Regions from separate parts of the Homo sapiens genome. Here regions 1 and 3 are each linked to region 2. The links are contacts of gene promoters, found by promoter capture Hi-C in blood cells and fetal thymus (Javierre and others, 2016). All regions are on one chromosome and are shown on one strand. The core of a region is centred on a gene start or on the middle of the fragment in contact, and the rest is flanking DNA. Distances in the headings are between cores, read along the strand shown.

Region 1 (3,109 bases), core at 492-2,991, 1.2 Mb after region 2:
GTGATCCACTCACCTCAGCCTCCCAAAGTGCTGGTATTATAGGCGTGAGCCACCGTGCGTGGTGTCAGGCCTTCTTAAGAATCAGATAAACACCCTTCAGCCTAGTGTGCAATGTGGATTGACGTCTGGGGGCTGCTCTGGCTCAGCCACGGCCCCGGGTGCCAGAGGTGGCTCCTTCCCGTTCAGGGTAGCATGCCCCTCCCAAAGCGAGGAAATTTTCTACAGATGTAGAAATAGAAGTGATTTTCTGCCTAAAAATGAACATGGAGAAAAACATTGTTTGAATTCAGGGTGTGCACAGGACACCAGCACGGAGCCAGGAAGGCTGCACAGGCGCCTCCAACCCGCCACCCCATGGCTGCGATGATGGGCTCAGGGACACGCCTCCCAAGAGGATGCCATGGGAGGGACTCTCACAGCTGTCTGGATAGTTTCAGAGACTCCAGAACACAGGTCATCTTACTGGAAGGTTTTGTTTGTTGGGAATTTTATTTAGTTTTATAGCAGGATCTGAACATCACTACATAAAAACTTTTTTATACTTAAAAATTTATTACAGAGTTATTGCATGCACATTTCTGAAAATTTAGGGAATTCAGATTAAAGACAGTTAAAATCATCTGTGTTTCTATTGAGCAGAGAAAGTGCTGTCCCGCAGGAGCCTGTCTGCCTCCAGCCTTATGGCTGCTGTTTTCTGCAGCCTCTGAGTGCAGACAGCCTCTACTAGTGGGTGTCGTCATGGAGGAGAGGCAGCCCCGTGGGCTTCGGGGAGCTGGGTGCACCTCTCCTCTCACACAGCCGCCGTGACATAGGGCATGTCCTGTTCTTTTCTTGTAGCCTAGTCTCCTCTGGGCATGATGGAGCCTTAACAAGCTGCCGCGAGTTTCCAGGAACTCACGTCTGTGAACACTAGCCGTGTGTGTGGCACGCAGACAAGTTCATTCTACAGGCAACTGTGGCTCCTGTCATTCTTCTTGTATTTTTAGTCTTGGTTATGGCAGCCTGCTCTGTAAGCTGTTTAAACTCAACTTTAAGTGAGCTAAAGGTGAAGAGAGCTTCACTGGAGGAGTCATCAAAATACATTCTCAGGACCATTTTTTCTTCAATTTTTCTTTTTGACATCCTTCCAGACTGGGCTTCCCAGATGATTCTGATGCACAGCCTCGGCCACCTGCCCTCCGATGTGCCGAGGTCCTGCTGCGGCGGGGCCCTAGGGCTCCTGCCCTGGTGTCTTTGGGAATTGGAGGCCCCTGAGCCTTTAGCAATTGTAGCTTAGGATGAGAAGGATGGGCAGGGAGTGACTGCCTGTGTTGGGGAGGCTGAGTGGCCCCAAGGCTTGGAAATGGGATGGGTGGAAGCAGATGTGGGGAAGGGCTGGTCCTGGCTGAGGCACTCACTCACTGTGTCTGCTTCAGTCTCAGGGGCATTGGGTTGAATCTTTGAGTGCCGGGAGTCTGTTCTGGTCTGCTGGGGGAGCTGCTTTTGGAGTTCCTGGTGTCTTATTTCATGAGGTCGTGGCAAGATGGTGAAGTAGCAGCAGTGCTTAGGGTGTGAGGATGGTCCGTGCCAGGGTGGTGCTGCCGGGCCGCAGCTGTGGACGTGGTGGTGGTGTGTGTCGTGTTGGAAGGTGTGTTTGTTCAGACACACTAGTCCTGGGGGCTGCTGGGCACATCACTGGCGACATGCCCAATGGGGTGAGGCAGCGGTCTCGGGTGTCCACAGTCGAGCGCCCCAGACGGCAGGGTCTGCCTGGCGTCCACACAAGCAGGTGTGTGACCAGGGAGGGGCCCATGCACGGTGCCTCCTCCTCGTGCATTCGCCAGTGCCGCATATCCCCGACTGTGTGCTTCCTGCTGCGGCAGCGGCCTCACGCTTGCTTGCTTCCTCCTCTCCAGGTCAAACGATCAAGGAGCAAAGGCGGGCTGGCCGGCCCCGACGGCACCAAGTCTGTCTTTGGGCAGATGTGTGCTAAGATGAGCTCGTTTGGTCCCGACAGCCTCCTCCTTCCTCACCGTGTCTGGAAAGTCAAGTTTGTGGGTGAGAACTTGCCACGTGCTGGAGCACCTGTGTCCCCGGCAGTGGTCGCCTGAGCCCACAGGGAGCACAGAGGCCACATGGTGTGGGAGCGTTGGGGCTCTCTTTACACAGGACTGTGTGAGGGGACTTCGAGTGGCTGCTTCTCCCCTGCAGGTGAATCTGTGGATGACTGTGGGGGCGGCTACAGCGAGTCCATAGCTGAGATCTGTGAGGAGCTGCAGAACGGACTCACGCCCCTGCTGATCGTGACACCCAACGGGAGGGATGAGTCTGGGGCCAACCGAGACTGCTACCTGCTCAGCCCGGCCGCCAGAGCACCCGTGCACAGCAGCATGTTCCGCTTCCTGGGTGAGCTTCTCGGCCGCTTGAGACTGTGTCGCTGTGGCCTGTGCCTGCTCTTGAGTTAAAATGTACTATCTGTTTGAGGAGTGACAGTAGATATCTTGAATATCTGCTTTTAGTTTTTGAGACTGTTACCAATAAAAATGACTTTTAGGGTGAGGCGCGGTGGCTCACGCCTATAACCCTAGCACTTTGGGAGGCTGAGGCAGGCAGATTGCCTGAGGTCAGGAGTTCGAGACCAGCCTGACTAATGTGGTGAAACCTCGTCTCTAGTAAAAATACAAAAAAAATTAGCTGGCTGTGGTGGCATGCACCTGTAGTCCCAGCTACTCAGGAGGGTGAGGCAGGAGAATTGCTTGAACCCGGGAGGCGGAGGTTGCAGTGAGCTGAGATCGTACCATTGCACTCCAGCCTGGGCAACACTCTGTATCAAAAAAAAAAAAAAAAAGAAAAAGAAAAGACTTTTAATATTGATCGTGCCTTTCACCAACATTGTGGAAGCGAACGAGGTGCTGTTGACTTCCGTGCCTAGCATTGAGGGCCTGACGGTGGTGGACCGTCGGAAGCTCTGTGCACAGCTGCAGGCACTGGCAGAGCCAGCCCCGGCCACGTGCTGAGGACTGGAGACTGCCTCGGGTACTCAGAAGATGGGAGATTCTGTTTCTGCATCTTCAGTGTTTATCTGAGACTTGGGATCAGAGTGGGGTGAGGTCTTCGCCATTGGCCAGTC
Region 2 (2,882 bases), core at 369-2,868:
TAAAACAGGTACTGAGTATAAAACAATATAAAACAATATGAGACGGTCTCTCTATTCCCTCAATACAACATCCACATCCTGCAGTAGGGACCTTTTGCAGAATTCTAGATGGCAGGAAGCTTCTATGAACCTAAGTCCAGATTTTAATTTGCAAGGAAACTGAAGCAGATGAATTTTCTCATTGTAAAAAAATGAATGCCTTGATAATATATTTGTTTTTCATAGTAGGCCTTTGTCATTAAAATTGATGCCTGAGGATATAGTTGCATCTTGTGTGGAACAGTAAGTTATTACTCATTGCATACCAGATTTTAGCATACTTGCATTAGTTCATGGAATATGATTTTACATTTACTATTGCAGTTCCAGTGCCATTATCAGATTGCATTTTCCTACTGAATTACAAACAAAAGTGTTATGCTACTAACAATTAACAAAATTTTAATAAGGTTGTGTTTGATGCTATTACTCAGATAATGTGTTCTAAATTGCTTTCCTTTGAATATATTTGCATTAAAGAGGAACTCAATTTGGTTCTTTGAAGAGTTTATCCACTTTCTGGGTAGCTTTAAAAAGACACAGGGAAATTCAGTTTCTTCTTTGCAAGTAAATAGAGAAGAAACAAATTTGCTAAGATCTGTAGAAGTCATGGCAGCAGACTGCTGATGGTTTGAGTTAATGAAATGACTCATTTTGGCTACTTGAGTTGCACAATTAAAATATACAGTAGAGACTGTATATCACATCATAGATGAGAGATAAATCCCCCAGTGTTCTCTTTTTTTTCCTCAAAGCTAATATATTATGAATTAAGAAATTTAAGAGCTCCACATTATTGCAATTCTTGATCAGTGATGCCCCAAATTAAGTAGTAATCTCTTGAGAGTGCACGTTTGTTTGCAGCATTCCTCTTACCCATTTCTGCTAAAATTGTGGTTGTGACGAAAGCAGTTGTTTTCCAAAAGATAAACCCATGTGACCAAGCTAAAACATTTACCTAATACTGACACGTTTTTTGTGGTCTTCTCATAGTTGTCTAGCTAAAGGAGTTTAATGCAGAGAATATAAATACGGAAATAGTGAAACTGAAGTCCTGCTTGCGCAGAAAGCCTGCAGCCGACTTTGGTTTTTAACAGACTCCACGGGGCATTAGAGAAAGTAACTGGGGGCAGTGGGATGGAGGGTATGAAATTGGGTGGAGGGACGAAAACTAAGAGCCCTCTGGGTCTTTTATGTCCTTCTACATTTTGTGTAGAAATAAATGTTTTTACTTTACTTCCACGGTCGGCCCTTCCTCTTCACCTTTTTTTTTTCTCACACGTTCATCCTCTGAATTCTTTCCGTTTACAAATGCTCCCGATTTAGAAACTCATAATACTGTCTGTAAAACTTGCCTGAGCCTGTGTGGTCTGAATTTAGCGACACACTTGTTTAGGAGTTTCGGTTCTCGCTCTCTGTTTGCATGGTTTGGTAACAACACTTCACTATACTAAAAATCATCGCCCGGACCTGCAGGGCTGCACGGAAAACGCTGTTCCTTTTGGTACCCGCCGCAGCCGCGCAGGCGCACCGCCCAGCCGCCCTGACGCAAGGCGCAGGCTTCATGACGCAGCACGCAGTCTCAGCCGACACTGCGCGCGCCTCCAGGCACCGGCGTTAGCGGGTCGCCGACCCGCAATCCCCGCCGCGGCTGCTTGCCTACCGGAGTGTGCGCCGGCACCTGCCGCCGGAGACATGTTGCAAAAACCGAGGAACCGGGGCCGCTCTGGCGGCCAGGCCGAGAGGGACAGAGACTGGAGCCATAGCGGAAACCCCGGGGCTTCGCGGGCCGGGGAAGACGCCCGGGTTCTCAGAGACGGCTTTGCCGAGGAGGCCCCGAGCACGTCCCGCGGGCCGGGCGGCTCGCAGGGGTCGCAGGGCCCCTCGCCTCAGGGCGCCCGCCGGGCCCAGGCCGCCCCCGCCGTGGGGCCCAGGAGCCAGAAGCAGCTGGAGCTGAAAGTGTCCGAGCTGGTGCAGTTCTTGCTGATTAAAGACCAGAAGAAGATTCCGATCAAGCGGGCCGACATACTGAAGCACGTCATCGGGGACTACAAGGACATCTTCCCCGACCTCTTCAAACGGGCCGCCGAGCGCCTCCAGTACGTCTTCGGGTATAAGCTGGTGGAACTTGAACCCAAGAGCAACACTTACATCCTCATCAACACCCTGGAGCCTGTGGAGGAGGATGCCGAGATGAGGGGTGACCAAGGCACGCCCACTACGGGCCTCCTGATGATCGTCTTAGGGCTCATCTTTATGAAGGGCAACACCATCAAGGAAACTGAAGCCTGGGACTTTCTGCGGCGCTTAGGGGTCTACCCCACCAAGAAGCATTTAATTTTCGGAGATCCAAAGAAACTCATTACTGAGGACTTTGTGCGACAGCGTTACCTGGAATACCGGCGGATACCCCACACCGACCCCGTCGACTACGAATTCCAGTGGGGCCCGCGAACCAACCTGGAAACCAGCAAGATGAAAGTTCTTAAGTTTGTGGCCAAGGTCCATAATCAAGACCCCAAGGACTGGCCAGCGCAGTACTGTGAGGCTTTGGCAGATGAGGAGAACAGGGCCAGACCTCAGCCTAGTGGCCCAGCTCCATCCTCTTGAAAGGTGGATTCAGAGGGACCCCCGGGACAAGGGTCTGAGACCCAAAGGCACAGTTTAGAGGATTGGGGGAAGGGAGAACGAACCCAGGGAGCATATTGCTGTAAACGCTTCAATGTGTGTAGCTTTAGGATGTGTTTGCAAAGTTTTGTTTTTTTAATGTTGTGTTATTTTGCTCCAGATTTTCATCTATAAACAAAGGAGCATTTGTTTTGATTTTACTCTTTTTGGTATAA
Region 3 (2,800 bases), core at 247-2,746, 1.2 Mb after region 2:
CGGAGACAGGCCATGCCCCCGGAGACACTACCAAGCCCCAGAGACACGACCACGCCCCAGGAGACACAACCACGCCCCGGAGACAAGCCATGCCCCCAGAGACACGGCCACGCCTTGGAGACAAGCCACGCCCCCGAGACCAGCCACCTCCCGGAGACACGACCACGCCCCGGAGACAAGCTACGCCCCCGGAGACACATTGACGCCTTTGCAGACGCAGCCAGGCCCCCGGAGAGAAGGGCCGTGCTCCGAGAGACACAGCCATGCCCTGTGGACCCAGCCAGGCCCCTGCAAGCATAGCCAGGGGCGGTTTCTCGCTCAGAGGGACGCCTTGGGGCTGAGCAGCGCATTAGGGACGATTTGGGGCCAAGCAGCGCTTTGTGGGGAGGGGAGCGTTCAGTGACGGGTGTTTTCTCTGGATGTTAGACACTGTCCACCAGAGGGGAGTTGGCTGCAGAGGGACTGCCTTTCAACAGCCAAATTTTCACCTCAGCGCCTAAACCTGGTGCTTCTCGTTCCTTGCCGGTATTATGTCAGATATTTAAAGAACTCGAAGAACAATGTTCTTTTTTTTTTTTTTTTGAGACAGTTTCGTTCTTGTTGTCCAGGCTGGAGTGCAATGGCGCCATCTCGGCTCACCGTCACCTCCACCTCCCTGGTTCAAGCGGTTCTCCTGCCTCAGCCTCCCGAGTAGCTGGGATTACAGGCACGCGCCACCACGCCCGGCTAATTTTTGTATTTTTAGTAGAGACGGGGTTTCTCCATGTTGGTCAGCCTGGTCACGAACTCCTGACCTCAAGTGATCCGTCCGCCTTGGTCTTTCAAATTGCTGGGATTACAGGTGTGAGCCACCGCGCCCGGCCACAATGTTCTTAAGATTTACGAAGAAGCTGTTTTCCACACGCTGTTGATCGCCGCCACTGTGAAGTCGGCGTGCGGCGCCTGCTGCCGGCTGTCGTTTCACAGGGGCGGGGTGGGAGGGCCGCGGTCCCCCGGGCGCACCCGGGCGGGGAGTGCGCAGGGCGGCCTGGCTGGGCCACTCCTGCCCTCCCGCCGGGCGCCAACCGGGGATCCGCCAGCTCGAGCTCTGCTCCGAGTCCCGCAGACCCACCATGCCCGGAGCACTCAGCCGTGCGGCCACGGGCGTGCCAGTACCAGCGGGAAAGGCCGGGGCTGCCTGGACCTGGGCAGGAGGCGGTGACCCGGCCTAGCTTGAGCGCCGGCAGCACCGCTCTCTTGGCTGCTGCTCATTCACACCCGCAGGCCTGGAGCCTTTTCTTGGGCCGAGCAGGTGACCCAGGCTCCTGTACGCAGTGGAGAAGGGCCCAGGCGTGGAACGCCGTCCCCTTCCCGGCAGGGCAGGTGTCAGGACCACGCCCGGCGCCGCGCCCTGGCCTCTGTCGGTCCTGGCACCGGTGCCGTCGCCCCACTCCGCCCTGGGCACGGCTGCGGGAGGCGGGGCTCGGGCAGGCTTGGTGAGCGTCTGGCGCGCTCTGAAGGCCACGGCACGGCGGGGCGTTGAGGGCCTCGGAGAGAACGGTGCTGGCAGCAGGGGCGGCAGGAGGGGCCCGGGCCCACCCCCACCTCGCAGGGCCCGAGTTCGGGGGCACGGTTGCAGGCAGAAAGAGCGCAGAGCCGGAGAGAGGGCCGGCAGTAGCCCACACGAACGATTTGGGGTTGAGTGTGAGGACTGGAAGGTTCCACCGACTCTGAACCATCTATTTTTTTTTTCTAAAAATAAGCCACAACTATCTATTTTTTCTTTCTAAAATTTGGTGACTTCGGTGTGAGTCTTGCTTGGAAGGAGGGTCCTGGGCGCCATCGCGGGGAGGACCTGGAGGGGTGGGTTGGGGCTGTGGCATACTCCGCCCTGTGCCGCCGGCTTACAGCTCCCCTACCCCTCTCCCGCCAGCTGCAGGTGTCCCTACGGGCGGGAGCTCTGCCCAGGGTGGCCCTGCCCTAGGCAAGTCAAGCGCATGGGGCCCAATAAAGCAAAGCCAGGCTGAAGCTGTGGTTCCCGTGAGAGTGCAGCCACGGGCTGGGGTGAAGGGAGGGTCACCCCAGAGGACGGGCTGTGTGCTAGTGTGTTGGGGTCCCCCAGAGGTAGGCTGTGTGCTAGGGTGTTGGGGTCCCCTAGGAGACAGGCTGTGTGCTAGGGTGTTGGGGTCCCCTAAGGGACAGGCTGTGGGATTGGAGTGCTCCATCATCTGCATGAGAGGCGATGACCAGGTGGGACTAGGAGGAGTTAGGATGTGTTTGGAAGAACTGGATGAGGAATGTGTGAGAAAGAGGGAGAGTTCTGGGTGAGCAGAGGCCTCTGTCTCCCAGGGAAGAGGCAGGAAGTGAGGTGGAACGAGAGCCCCTACTCAACCCCGGACAACCACTAACCTGTTCCCCATTGATATAACTTTGCCGTTTCAAGAATGTTGTAGTCATGGAATCAGAGTAAATAGTCTGTTGGAACTTGCTTTTTTTCACTGAGGATTTTCACTCTGGATTCCTCTACGTTGCTGTGTATGAATTGTCTGTTCCTTTTGATTGTGGCGTGGTCTTCCCGGCATGCATGCACCGCAGCCTATTTCACACTCCCCTACGGACAGACGGCTGCGTGGCTTCCAATTTTTCATATAGCTTCTATGACCATTTGCGTGTAGGGTTTTGTGTGAATGAAAGTTTCATTTCTCTGGGATTAATGTCCAGGAGTGCAATTGTTGGCTGGTAGTTGCAATTTTAGTTTTTTTTTAAAAACTGTCAAACTGCTTTCCAGAGTGGCTGTACAATTTTACATTCCCATTGGTGA

What was found. Contacts are between HindIII fragments. The CHiCAGO score rates a contact against its expected background, and 5 or more counts as called.
Region 1: a contact is called between a fragment that was not itself captured here and the fragment with the promoter of NSMCE3 in region 2, in 1 of 17 cell types (fetal thymus). The highest score is 8.5, in fetal thymus.
Region 3: a fragment that was not itself captured here is called in contact with the fragment with the promoter of NSMCE3 in region 2 in 5 of 17 cell types (non-activated CD4 T cells, total CD4 T cells, fetal thymus and 2 more); the score reaches 7.7 in non-activated CD4 T cells.

The regions. Positions count from the first base shown.
Region 1 is chr15:28,115,941-28,119,049 of GRCh38, reverse strand. HERC2 (HECT and RLD domain containing E3 ubiquitin protein ligase 2) reads left to right here. Exons shown (of 93, transcript NM_004667.6): 87 at 1,896-2,037; 88 at 2,191-2,385. Among named protein-coding and RNA genes, the nearest start is that of OCA2, 18 kb to the right of the region's middle. The HindIII fragment of the contact is 5,691 bases long and covers 1-3,109 here.
Region 2 is chr15:29,268,558-29,271,439 of GRCh38, reverse strand. NSMCE3 (NSE3 component of SMC5/6 complex) reads left to right here and starts at 1,618. Exons shown (of 1, transcript NM_138704.4): 1 at 1,618-2,882. The coding sequence starts at 1,735. The coding sequence ends at 2,649. The region is part of intron 2 of ENTREP2 (endosomal transmembrane epsin interactor 2); the gene reads left to right. RefSeq lists enhancers at 1,322-1,821, 1,822-2,323. The HindIII fragment of the contact is 8,019 bases long and covers 122-2,882 here.
Region 3 is chr15:28,093,498-28,096,297 of GRCh38, reverse strand. All of the region lies in intron 1 of OCA2 (OCA2 melanosomal transmembrane protein), which reads left to right. Among named protein-coding and RNA genes, the nearest start is that of OCA2, 4.4 kb to the left of the region's middle. The HindIII fragment of the contact is 3,761 bases long and covers 1-2,800 here.